5 separate regions of the Homo sapiens genome follow, and all the other regions are linked to region 1. The links are contacts of gene promoters, found by promoter capture Hi-C in blood cells and fetal thymus (Javierre and others, 2016). All regions are on one chromosome and are shown on one strand. The core of a region is centred on a gene start or on the middle of the fragment in contact, and the rest is flanking DNA. Distances in the headings are between cores, read along the strand shown.

Region 1 (2,556 bases), core at 24-2,523:
CGGGAGAGCTGGCAGATCAGAGAGGGACTTTCCAGATAAATCCCATCTGGGGAAACGTTACTATCTTCCACAAGCAATTTTTCTAAAAATGCAAATGCTCTTTTATAGAGCTCGGCCTTCCCTCCTTTAAGAAAGGGCTTGCCGATTCAAACCTGCCCGACTCAGCTGGATTAAGTTGGGCAAGGGAGATTTGCCGTCAGTCTGCAACCTGGTGGCAGATGGAGATGGAACCAAGATTTACCCTGGAAGTAGGATATTAGTCAATGGCTGTCACTGGGGTACAATGTTCAGAACGATGCAAACAGACACGGAGGGTTGATTCTTCTTCAGGGAAATGGCTGGCCACTCCCTTGATTTGGGAGAAACTAAACTGGCCTTCTCGTTCCCAGTCCCAGAACCTCCACCCCTTTCGAATTCTTCCCAACGGGCTGACCCTGCCCGGCGCCCAGGAGCGCCCTGGGTATCTCCTGGCTGCTCTCCCGAATCCTTGCGCGCCGCGCCCCTACCAGGTTCACTGGGTGCACGTAGCCGTTCTCATAGCGGTCCTCCTGCAACAGCTGCCGCAGGTGAGCGATGTAACTGGAAGCCAGCCGGAGCGTGTCCAGCTTGGAGAGCTTAGTGTCGGGGGGCACCCAGGGCAGGCTGGTCTTGAGCCTGGAGAAGGCTTTGCTCAGCACGCGCATCCGGGCACGCTCACGGGCGTTGGCCGCGTTCCGCTGCGACTGCTTGCACTCTGCGGCTGAGCCCTTGGCCGGGAGGGGCTTCTTGCCACCACCGCCCGCGCTACCACCTGCGCCGCCGCCCCCAGCCACACGGGGCCGCTTCCTCTTGCAGCCTTCCGCGCTGCCGGCTGTGCCCAGAGCGCAGCGCTCCTCCTCGCCGTCGGGGTCCTCCTCCTCTGCCGACGAGTTGTCACTGGGCGAGGCGTAGCTGCGCTCTACGCCGCGGAGGGGCGGCCTCTTGGAGGCGGGGACCGGGTACTCCCGCTGCAGCCCCCGAAGCTCCATCTCCTCCGGATCACTCACCGAGCCCGTGGACATCCCGTTGTCCCCCTTGCCCACACGCGTCCTCTTTCCTCCCCCCTGGCCAGTCTCGCTGTCTCCGCCTTCCGCTCCCTGGCGGAGGCGGAGGCCAGAGAGCGCTCCAAGGAAGACTAAAAACCCAGGCCGGGAAGCGCGGGGTGAGAAAGCGAGGTGGGTGGCGAGAGCGTGAGCGCCCCTCTGCTGACCCCGGGGAGCGTGGACTACGAGTTGGCGCCCAAGTCCAGAATCCGCGCGCACCGCGGTAAGCTGCGCCTTTTGAAAAGGCTATCTGTACTCCTTGGAACAAACCACCCCGGGCAAAGAAGAGGGGGTTGTAAAGGGGGCCAAGAGGTGGGGCAGGGGCGTGGAAGGGGTGGGGACCGCTTTTCTGCATGCCGAAGAGCGGTTGGTGGAGGCGGGGGAAGGGGACGTCTCTGCAGAGCCGAGATTTGGGCTCTGAAGCCCGACGGCCCTTCAACATGTCTGCGCAGGATAAGTGAGCTTTCGGGGAGTGAAGGGGCACATCTTGTTCCTACCGACGGTGCTTCTACCCCCAGGTAATCTTAGCAGTGGCAAAGATTACCAGACACTTAGAAACGACGGGATTCCGACCTCTGCTTGCCTGCCAGTCTTTCCAGTAGAACTCAGTTTTCAAGTTAACCATTCATGATGTATGATTGTCTACCCAAGCCTTGCTGGACAAGAGAAAAAGCAGAACAGGCAAACAACATCCAACAATGCACAAGTTACCTCTCATTTTCCTCCTCCTTTTCTTATAATATACCTTCATGGTTTACAAAAATGGTTACAATGGTTCGTTGCCTTTTCAAATAACATCTGTAACTTAATGATATTATCTCCAATTTGCAGAACTTGAAGCTGAGCCGCCTAGATAGACGTTAAGTAAAAGACCCAAACTTATTAGGCTAAGTAGAAAAAAAGATTCAAAATCCGCGTTTTGAAATTCTGGCCCGTCGGTATTCTAGTCAGCTCCGTGCCTCCGGGTCACACATCACTGGATGTTGTAGCTGGTATTTTCCACTATCTTGAGAGTTCCATGCGTGATGTGATTTTGTTTTAATACCACAATGCGTGTGTTGGAGGATCCGGCCCTAAAGCTTTGCATTATAATGTAGGGAATCCTTGCTATTGTATTTAATAGATTGTGTATTGAAGAGCGAGCTCCTGGAAGCAGAATGCTAAGTTAGCACAATCGTCCATTCAAAGTAAAAACGACAAAGGAGCACCCTGAATGATCATGTTCCATTCCAAACAAGACTAAAACATCCTGCTCTTCCACACAAGAAAACACAACAATTTTGCAGTCTCATTATTTCCTAACTCGAAGGTCATCGCAGTTCCTGGTCAGGGGATAAGTACGTCTGTGGATACGGGCCCCAGTGGTCAGAGACTGAGTGCCCGCTGTGTGCCCGTCACTGTACTCGCGGCTTGTGAGCAGCTCACTGAGTAATAAAACCCGTATGAGTTTGGCATATGGTTACCCCATTTTACAATGATGAAACTGAGTCGTCAC
Region 2 (2,556 bases), core at 17-2,516, 1.4 Mb before region 1:
GAGGAGGCGGGGAGCGCAGCCGGCAGCGACGACCCCGGCCCCCTCCCCCAGCACCCCCCAGGGGCCCGAGAGGGCCGGGTCCCCGTGCCCGGGGCGTGACCGTCGCGAGGCGGCCACAGGGCCCCTCCCGCTTCCCGCCTGGGGCCCCGAGGGCCTGTCCCTTCAGGGGCGGAGAGAAGGGGGCGAGAAAAGGGGGCGCTGGCGAGCCAACCCGGAACCTCCCGGTCCGCCTCCCGCCCCCGGCCCCGGCCCCAGCGCGCCTCCTGCATACACGCCCGCACCCAGAAAGTTCAGTCAGGGGCGAGCCCGGCTCGGCGCCGCCGGGGCCCGGCCCCCGGCTCCCCGCCCCCACCACGGCCCGGCCTGCTCGGCCCCAGCGCGCCGCCCGCCCCGCCCGCCGCAGCTCCTTCCCGTCCGCCCGCGGTGCTCGGCGCCCCTCGCCCCCCACCCCCGGGGCTGACACGGGCCCGGGCCACCCGCCGGGCCGCGGCTCCCCTTCCCCGCCCCGCGCTGCAGCTCGCCGGCCGCCCCGACACCCCGCTTCACCTTCACACACCCCCAGCACTTCCCGAGTCCTGCCTCCCCTCGCCCGGCTCCCACTCTCCGCTGCAGCCGCTCCGCGCTTCCATTAAAGAATGCACCTTCCCAGGATTCACCTTCTCGGCTCTGCCGCGCTGCCCCCGAGGGGTTAGAGCCTCGGTCTCCGCCGACCCCGCACCGGGCTGGGCAATGGGCACTCGCTCCTCGGGGCGGGGGCCGCGCCCGCACCCCCGGCCGCGCCTCGGCGCTCACCTCTCGCCCGCGCCGCGGGCTGCAGCCTCCGCCCGCCTCGCGCTCCGGGACTCGTCTCCTGAGCTCTCGCAAGGCGCTGGAGCGCCTCCTTTCTCTCCCGGGGACTCCGCGTCTCCCCGTCGCTTCCCGCCCTCCCCACCCCCAAGCCCCAACTCCCCAGCGTCGCTGCGCCTCCGGGATGCAACTCCCGTTTTCCGCGCACTCCGGCGGCGGTCCCCGCACACAAAAACAGCCTCTCGGAGGCGCACGGCTCTGTCGGAGCTCGGCGCAGGAAGGGCAGTCGCGGCCGGGGGTGGGGACGCGGCGCCCCCCGCCTGCCGCCCGCCCCCCGCCCGCCCTCGCGGCCCCGGGGGAAGGCGCGGTTACCGGCTCGGGTCGGTCACGCCGTCAGGTGCCGGCTGCCGTCGGCGCTGACCTTCGCCGCCGAAGCTGTAGCCGAGGCTGCGGCCGCCATGTTCCCGTGTTAATAACTGCTGCCTGGTTGTTTATTTCAATGGAGATCCTCCCCCAACTCCCTCCTCCTCCTCCTCCTCCTCCTCCTCCTCCGCGTCTCCGCACTTGCGGAGAGACAGACAGCGCGAGCTCGCGAGCAGGGGAGGGGGCTCGGGAGCCAGGCCGTCCCTCCCTCTGCCTCCCCGGCAGTGGCCGCCGCCAAGTCCTGTCACCGGGAAAAGGACGGGGCGGAAACTTGCCTCTCGCGCCCCCGAGGAAGGGGCAAAGGTGGACGCAGGGTTGTCCGGGGAGCAGCCCCTGGCCGCGGGGTCCGCAGCATCTCCGTCGGCAGAGTCCTCTGAGAAGGCGGCCCGGGGAGAGGTGAAGAAGAGTAAGGGGACAGGGGACAAAATGGGTGACTGTGGTAGAGGGAGGGTGACCTAGAGGTGACTGGAACTGAAGAGAGAGTCAACAGAGGACTGCATGGGAGGGCAAAGGGCAATGCCAAAAAGAAAACTAGCGACTGGGACGGGCCTGGGCCGCTGAGTTAGAGGCAGTGGGGCCTGGGGGCTGCAGACGGCAGGGACGGTGCCCCAGGACGAAGATCGGGGAGAGCCGAGTTCCAGGGTCGCCAGCAGAGGACCCTCGCGCCCGTCCGGCCGGACCCTTCGGCCAGCACCCTGCACCCCCTCGGGCGCACCTCACCCTACCCAACTCCCGGTCCTGCCGCTGCTCCCCGGAGGCGCCCCGCATCCGTCAAGTCCCCTACGGCTCCAACAGGGAGAGGCTTCTCCCATTGCAGTCCTAGCTCCAGAGGGGATGGAGAGGCGCGACTGTGGGAGCTGGAAGGGGCACCACCCGGCAATTGCGGGATAAAGCAAATGCTGCACACAGAGTGTGAAACTTAACCTGGTTGAGAATTTTCGGCACATCATGAAATCATAAGTTTGTATTGGAAAGTCCATTCTCTAGACATCCGTGAACAAAGTACTGAGGGGACGTAGGAGATTGGCACTGAAAATGCGAGAACCCCCATTTAAGTGTTACTTAGACCAATCTGTTTTACGCTTTGGAAAAGCAAGTTTTTTTTCCAACTTATACGGTAATTAGTTGAAAAAAAAAACTTTTGTTTAATGGCAGTTATCAAACTATGAGAGGAACATATTCCCTGATTTTAATCTTATAATGAGAAAGGTCACTTGCGGTAGACAATAAGAGTGTTTATTGAACACTTACTGTGAATCTGACTGTGCTAGGTGATGTATATATGCTATAGGCCTTAATCCTCAAACCTTCCGAAGTCATTGCCGCTTTTCACTTCACACAAAAAAT
Region 3 (2,556 bases), core at 38-2,537, 1.2 Mb before region 1:
GCTGTTCCTTCATGTCTCATTTACACATGACCTCTTCGAAAGCTTCACTGAATTCTGTGACCTAAGCAATTTATCTTTTATGATTCAATTGCATTTTTGAAATAGTTTTATTGCAGTATAATTTATGTCATATAGTTCAGCTATTTGAGATATTCAATTCTGTGGTTTTTAGTATGTTTGCAAAGTTGTGCAACAATCACCATAATATAACTTTAGAACATTCTTGTAATCTCTAAAAGAAACCTTATACACATTACCAGTAACTCTCCATTTCCCCTCATAGTCTTGGCAGCCCTTGGCAACAACTGACCTATTTTCTACCTCTCTATATTTGCTTATTGTGGACATTTCTTTTTGTTCTTTCTTTGTTTCTTTTCTTTCTTTTTTTGAGATGGGGTCTTGCTCTGTTGCCTAGGCTGGTGTACAGTGGCATGATCATAGCTCACTGCAACCTTGGACTCCTGGCCTCAAGAAATTCTCCCACCTCCCAAAGTGCTGGGATTACAGGTGTGAACCACCATGGCCAGCTTGGACATTACATGTAAATAGAATCATGATCTTTTGTGACTGACTTCTTTCACTGAAGATAATGTTTCCAAGGTTCATCGATGTTGTAACATGTATCAGTACTTCACTCCTTTTTATGGCCAAATAATATTCCATTGTATGGCTATAGCACATCTTATTCATCAGTTGATGAACATTTGTGTACAAGTTTTTGTTTGAACTCAATTCCTTTGGGTATATACCTAGCAGTGGAATTGCTGATCATAAGGCAACTTTATGTTTGACGTTTTGAGGAACTCTCACACTAATTTCCAAAGTGAATGCACTATTTCCCATCCTATTAGCAATGTGTAGAGGTTCCAATTTCTTCCCATCCTTGCCAATACTTTTATTTTCTGTCTTTTAATCTTATCTGTCCTAGTGGGTGTGAAGTAATATCTCATTGTGATTTTGCTTTGCATTTCCCTGAGCACTAATGATATTGACTACTAGCCTTATCAGGTGCTCAGAAGCCATCTGTATATCTTTTTTTGTAGAAATGTCTATTCAAATCCTTTATCATTTCTAAGTTGGATTAATTTTTTAAAGTTTATTGAGTTGTAAGGGTTTAAAAATATCTATTCTATATGTCCATGTTGTTCTGTAATTTATTTTAAAAAATAAAAGATAGATTCTAGATCTTAGCAGATATATGATTTGAAAATATTTTCTTTCAGTCTGTCTTTTTACTTTCTTGATGGTTTTCTTTGAAGCACAAAAGTTTTTAATTCAGCAAAGTCCAACTTACCTGTTTTCTCTTTAATCACTTGCTATTGTTGTCCTATATAAGAAATCAGTGCCTAACCCAAGATTCCAAAGATTTACTCCTGTGTTTTCTTCTAAGAGTTTTATGGTTTTAGCTCTTACACTTGGGTCTATGAGGACTCACTTGTATTTTGTACATAATTTCATTTTAGCAATAATCATACTATCTTCTATTGTTTGCAAGTCTGTCTTCCCACTAGACTGGTACTCCTCAGGAACTGGGAGTTGTTTCATTTTTCCAGCTCCTACTACCTGGTGCTATACTGTCAAATATTTAGTGGTCATTATTTATTGAGGGAATGAAAAGAAAAAATACCTCACATAAATGAGAATAAAACCTTAAGATAGTTTAACCAAGAAACAAACATAAAAATGATATATGGCTCTACAAAGTTACTCATTTTAAATATATTTAAAGAAGACTTGCAATGCACCAAGCAAGTCCTGAGTTGTAGGATATAATTATTAACAAGACAGATTTAGTCTTTGTTCTTGAAACGCATACCTGGAATAGAAGACAGACAGTAAACAATGACCAATGTGATGGATATTTACAAAGAGACAGTGCAAGGTGCAGTAGAAGTGTTCTAGGTCATTTGGAAATGAATTGCTCTACTAATGTCAGTTTTTAAACTGAAATTGGTCCTTTCAAACCTTAGAATCTGGTGATTTTTCACTCCTTTGTGAGAAGACCACATTGGTCTTCTTTCAGCTGCTTAAACATATCATACTCTGGCCAGCCATAGGACTTGAGATGACCATTGGGTTTTTGTTGTTGTTGTTTGTTTGTTTGTTTTTGAGATGGAATCTCGCTCTGTTGCCCAGGCTGGAGTGCAGTGGCACGATCTCAGCTCACTGCAACCTCTGCCTCCCAGGTTCAAGTGATTCTCCTGCCTCAACCTCCTGAGTAGCTGGGATTACAGGCACGTGCCACCAGGCCTGGCTAATTTTTGTATTTTAGTAGAGATGGGGTTTCACCATGTTGGTCAGGCTGGTCTCGAACTCCTGACCTTGTGATCCACTCGCCTTAGGCTCCCAAAGTGCTGGGATTACAGGTGTGAGCCATTGCGCCTAGTGACCACTGGGTTTGGTAAGATGGAGGTTGTGTGGTTATGTTAGTTTGGGTTGTCCAGGAAATAGATGCCAAGAAGGAGTTAGAAGCATAAGAGACTTATTGGCAATAACATTTGTGAAAATTAAAGGGGAGGGGAGTTAACAGGGAAAAGCTTCAGGCTGTAATGTAGA
Region 4 (2,556 bases), core at 21-2,520, 1.2 Mb before region 1:
TACTGTTTCACAGTAACACCTCAATAATTCAGGCTGGCTGACAGATTAGCCTTGATGAAAAGTCTGAGTTATTCATTAATTGATCAATAACTGTTTATGGATTACCTAATATGTGCTACAAATTTGTTTCTTGCAGTAAGCAGGACACAACAACCCTGCTTACATTCAACTGTTGGTGAGAAGGGGAACTGCATATGACTGGAAATAAACAATAAAAGTAACATACCATAGAAAGCATTTTGCAAAGCATTAAAATTAAACAGTGAGTAACTGGATGGTTATTTTTTATTGGTTTGTTTCCCTAACCCTACTCCCTGAGACCCAGAGCCAACAAAAACAAACTGGCCTCTCATAAGGGAGGAGGGTAATGGCCTCATAGCCCATTGGCTTCTATCTGCACCCTATGTTCTGTAGCACAGTAGATGTCCTTCAGAAACACAGTGTTGAACTGTCCTATCCGGAGACAGGAGACCAGATGGTTACACTGGACCAAGAGGGCATTTATTATAGGGTTCTGTTGGTAGTGGAAATGTAAGGAAGAGATGGCTTTAAGAACATTTAGAAGGTACAATCAACCAACCACCAGGATATTTGTTAAACAACGAGATGTGGAAGGAGGGAAACAGTTGGCGACTCTGAGGTTTCTAGGTGGGAGGATTGGTGTGCCATTAATCAAGAAGGTAAACCCTGGAGGGAGCAAATTTGAGATGAGTTTGACTCGGGTCAGAGTGAGTTCTGATGCTATTCCTAGCCATCTTATCTTGCTTTTTTTCCATAGCAATTATTACCATGTAATATATTATGTATTTACATATTTATTTTTTTATTGCCTATTTCCACAACCAACACCACCGTACAAATTTGAGTCCCTTCAGGGCAGAAAGCTTGTCTGTTTGGTTCAAGGAATTTATGGATTTATTTCTATATCCATAATACATTGTACTGCACTTAGCATTGTGCATATTTAGTTATGCTAAATTAAAATACACAAGACTATAATACTATGATACCTCCAATAATACTCTCTAGCCCACCCATCCTAGATTTTGGCTGCCTCCATGCATTTGCAGTTATTTACCACAAATTCTCACTGCCCCTAACGTAGAGTCACTGGGACTATTTTTGTGGGTCTTCTGGTCCTCACAAAAAGAATACTTCCATGCTTCAGGTAAGGCTCAAATTTTTTCAATCCATCAAGGCCCCACCACTTTTAAAATTATTTCTTAATCCTTGCCTTCCCGTCCTCCCAAGAAACTCTGTTTTGAAATATCTCCTAATCTAAAAATGAATATAAATTTCTGTAATTTAATGACCAGATCACATCACACTGATCAAAAGTCATGACAAAATTAACAGGGTTGATACATGAATTTGATAAAATCTAGTAGCAAAGAAAACAGATCTTTTAGAATGCCTGTGCTGGTTGTTTGCAGGTGAAAGTGTGAGTGACCATACGACTGTGGTAGTGGAGAACATGTTTCTGGGGCTCCAGTTTTAGGTCTCTTAATGGTCCTGTCTTGGTTTAACAAAATTGGAATTGATAAAAGAAGGGCTCTCAAAAGAAAGAAAACAGAAAAAAGTTCTGGAATTAATACAATCTATTCAGAACAAAGGAGGGGTGTCTAGATACTATAAAACCTAAAACATGAGTTTGCACCAAGCTTTGAGGGAAAAAAAAAGTCACACTGATAACATATGACATTGACATAGCAATTTAAACCATTTGGGGCTTTCATATTTACTATTTCTTTTGATCCTCATATCAACTCTAGGGAGGTATTATTACTTTATTAATTATTTATTTTATAGAAAACTTATCTTCAGAAAGGCTAAGTGATTTGCTCCAGGTCATATAACCAGCAAGAGGCAGTGCTAGGAAGCACTAGATGTTCAGATACAAGGTCCAGTGACTTCTCCATTCAAAACACTGCCTCTCTAGCAGAAGGGGATTGCTTAGGTTAAGTGCTTAGAATCATTATGTGGCAAAAATAAAACTTCAGCTATACATTTGAAAAAACTGTTATCAGTTTTGAAATTGAAAAAAATGTTATCAGTTTCTCCCTTAGCAAACAGTTACTCTATCAGTGATGTCTGTAAATAGTTATAATAGATGATTGGATAGTATCATCTCTACATGGGCTAGTTGACTTTGTTCTTCTTGGCCACAGATAATAATATCCCTATCTCAGGAGGTCATTTTGCAAATGCAAATTATGCTAATGAAGGGCTCAAGGGAAGAGTATGGATGAATCTGTATAGGTCTATGAACGATTTATTCACTAGAGCAAAGTGCCTGGCACATAGTAGGCACACAATAACTGTTTGCTACATGAATGGAGAAAAAAATTTTTAATTGATGGAAAATTAGTAGAATCAAATTCCTTGTTATAGGTATTTCATGTCAATATTAAGATAGCTATTAACTGGTCTCTATTTGCTGTCACTCTTATAAAATCATTAGATATTTTCTGAACACCTACTATGAGCACAGTGTTATCTAGATGTTATGAGGAAAGCAGAAGTGATAAACATAATGGCTAACATGGTATGTTTTCC
Region 5 (2,556 bases), core at 30-2,529, 1.1 Mb before region 1:
TGATTATTTTTGTTCTTCAGAGAAACATTTTTTTTTCTTTTCAGCAGGCAGTAACTTGAACTTTAAACTCTGAACTCTAAACAATCTTTATTTAACCTTCAGTGAGCTGCATCGAGTCTTCCCCTTATATGCATAGTTCACGGTCAGCCTAAAATTGGGCAGAATTAATATATGAAGTGAGACTTCCTTTCTGTTGGTTCTATTTTTCTCCTAGATTTTCCACCTCATTTTTCAGCAGTTGTGATCACCACATACTCTGTTCTCTGGGCCTTAAAACCACTAAAACTGTAGGTTTTTAAATTTGGATTTTGTGTAGTTGGTATGCTGAGTGGGGTCTGCTCTCACTCAGTGCCATTCCTTCTTCCAGATGTCGACCTCTCTCCAGTGTCTGCTTGCTTTTTTTTGCTGTGAAGTGCTTTGAGGTAATTACCAGTGTTTTGTCCAGAGTTCATAGTGGTTATTTGTGAGACGATTTGTGCAGTAAGAGATATACCCACCTTCTTATTAATCTATAACATTTTCAGTAATCTTTCTGTAATGTTTGCCAGTCTTTCTGCCAGCACTTTGGGAGGCTGAGGCGGGTGCATTACCTGACGTCAGGAGTTCAAGACCACTCTGGTCAACATGATGAAACCCCATCTCTACTAAAAATACAAAAATTAGCTAGGTGTGGTAGCAGGCGCCTCTAATCCCAGCTACTTGGGAGGCTGAGGAAGGAGAATCACTCGAACTGGGGAGGCAGAAGCTGCAGTGAGCCGAGATCATGCCATTGCACTGCAGCCTGGGTGACAGAGCGAGACTTCGCCTCAAAAAAAAAAAATCTTTCTGTAATATTTACTTAGACAAGATGTGTAAAGCTTTTTAACATTTAGTTCTCTCTCATCCCTACTTATGACCCTGATAAAAACTGCAATATAGATATTATTATCATCACTACCCTTTAACTGGGAGAACCAAGGCTCATAGAGTTTAAGTAATTTGCCAAAGTCCACACAGATCCAATCTCAGGCTTTTTCACCTCAAATCCAGTTCATTTTTTGTGAAACCATGCTATCTTTATCTGATGAATAGGTTACCTACAGCTATGCTAAGTTATGCATTATTTAAAAATTATTATTTTTGTGATAGAGTCTTGCTCTGTCACCCAGGCTGGAGTGCAGTGGTGCGATCGTGGCTCACCACAACCTCCACCTCCTGGGTTCGCGTGATTCTTGTGCCTCAGCCACTCAGGTAGCTGGGACTACAGGTGTGCACCACCACGCCTGGCTAATTTTTGTATTTTTGGTAGAGATTGGGTTTTGCCATGTTGGCCAGGCTGGTCTTAAACTCTTGGCCTCAAGTGATCTACCTGCCTCGGCCTCCCAAAGTGCTGGGATTACAGGCATGAGTTACCATGCCAGCCTGAATGATTTATTTGCCTATGATATAGTTTTTTAAAAAGTCTAGCCTAAATGTTTTTCAGCTTTAGCTCAAGGTAGAGCTGGACTTGTGTCACTGTTAGCTTGAATAATCCAATTAACAATATATGTAATGGGAAAAAGGGTAGGAAATAATATATTATACATCTACTAAGGAGCTTGAATGCTAAGTGTCCCACACAAACATAGATTAAGTATTCATTCCATCCAACAAACATTTTCTTATTGGTTTTATAGCCAAGAAATAAATGGGAAGATCCTGGTCAGATGTTTTGGCTAAATAGTAAGCTTTTAAAATGAACTTTTAATATAGAATGAACTTAATTAATTTTATCCTCATGTTCTATATGGTTCAGTCATGGCTTTATAAGACTTTTAAATTTCCGCAACTAAATTTTGGGCTTTTTCTAGATTATTATGTGTATATAAAAGGCCTTTTGAAATTTAAAAAAGAAAAATAATTATGAGCAATACTTTCATAAAAGAACACTCATATGCACCTATATACATTCACATCTTCAAATATGAATACTCTCCTCATAGACTAGTGGTTCTCAACCTTTAGTGTGCATCAGAATCTCCTGGAGTGCTTATTGAAACACATTGCTGGCCCCTATCCTGAGTTTCTTTTTAGTAGGCATTAGGTAGGGCTTGAAATTTGCGTGTTTAAAAAAGTTCCCGGATGTTGCTGATGCTGCTGTTCTCCCCTCCCTTCTTTGAGAATCCCCGTTGACTTTTGAAGGCTATCAGTTAATAATTAGTTTCAAAACAGCCACTAGAGGGCAATGGAACCACAGAGAAATTGGACGTGCTGCCTAATTTGTTCCCTGGTTTATGGGATCAACTATGTATTGCTACAAGCCAGGAGAACACCAAAGCCAAACATTAATTTCTTGCACAATATCTTGATGCTCATTTCCAATTGTAAATCTTGTCCTTGTGATTGTGGGGGTCAGAGATATATAATGCATCTCTAACTCTGGCTGATGCCCCACTTAATGATTACAATAAATTCAAAGTTGGACTTTTCTAGCTGAGCATTTGCACATATACATGTCTTTGGGGTTAACATGAACCATTTGTCGTTTCCCAAAGAGGCTATATTTTGATATTAGATCTAGTTTGTTACAGAGATGAT

The links. Contacts are between HindIII fragments. The CHiCAGO score rates a contact against its expected background, and 5 or more counts as called.
Region 2: a contact is called between the fragment with the promoter of NCOA2 here and the fragment with the promoter of MSC in region 1, in 2 of 17 cell types (M0 macrophages and M2 macrophages). The highest score is 9.0, in M0 macrophages.
Region 3: a fragment that was not itself captured here is called in contact with the fragment with the promoter of MSC in region 1 in 1 of 17 cell types (M2 macrophages); the score reaches 7.2 in M2 macrophages.
Region 4: a contact is called between a fragment that was not itself captured here and the fragment with the promoter of MSC in region 1, in 1 of 17 cell types (M0 macrophages). The highest score is 5.7, in M0 macrophages.
Region 5: a contact is called between a fragment that was not itself captured here and the fragment with the promoter of MSC in region 1, in 1 of 17 cell types (endothelial precursors). The highest score is 5.2, in endothelial precursors.

What each region holds. Positions count from the first base shown.
Region 1 is chr8:71,843,139-71,845,694 of GRCh38, forward strand. MSC (musculin) reads right to left here and starts at 1,274. Exons shown (of 2, transcript NM_005098.4): 1 at 507-1,274. The coding sequence starts at 1,040. MSC-AS1 (MSC antisense RNA 1) reads left to right here. Exons shown (of 5, transcript NR_033652.1): 1 at 1-566; 2 at 1,091-1,284. RefSeq lists a silencer at 623-892. The HindIII fragment of the contact is 4,753 bases long and covers 1-2,138 here.
Region 2 is chr8:70,402,542-70,405,097 of GRCh38, forward strand. NCOA2 (nuclear receptor coactivator 2) reads right to left here and starts at 1,267. Exons shown (of 23, transcript NM_006540.4): 1 at 1,159-1,267. RefSeq lists silencers at 1-523, 554-843, 884-1,193, 1,884-2,043 and an enhancer at 1,664-1,783. The HindIII fragment of the contact is 4,231 bases long and covers 1-2,556 here.
Region 3 is chr8:70,610,475-70,613,030 of GRCh38, forward strand. All of the region lies in intron 1 of LACTB2-AS1 (LACTB2 antisense RNA 1), which reads left to right. Among named protein-coding and RNA genes, the nearest start is that of LACTB2-AS1, 3.2 kb to the left of the region's middle. The HindIII fragment of the contact is 2,495 bases long and covers 41-2,535 here.
Region 4 is chr8:70,663,020-70,665,575 of GRCh38, forward strand. All of the region lies in intron 1 of LACTB2 (lactamase beta 2), which reads right to left. It overlaps LACTB2-AS1 (LACTB2 antisense RNA 1), which reads left to right. Exons shown (of 4, transcript NR_038881.1): 4 at 1-260. Among named protein-coding and RNA genes, the nearest start is that of LACTB2, 4.9 kb to the right of the region's middle. The HindIII fragment of the contact is 777 bases long and covers 883-1,659 here.
Region 5 is chr8:70,743,503-70,746,058 of GRCh38, forward strand. It overlaps a transcript of XKR9 not described here. Among named protein-coding and RNA genes, the nearest start is that of XKR9, 75 kb to the left of the region's middle. The HindIII fragment of the contact is 849 bases long and covers 856-1,704 here.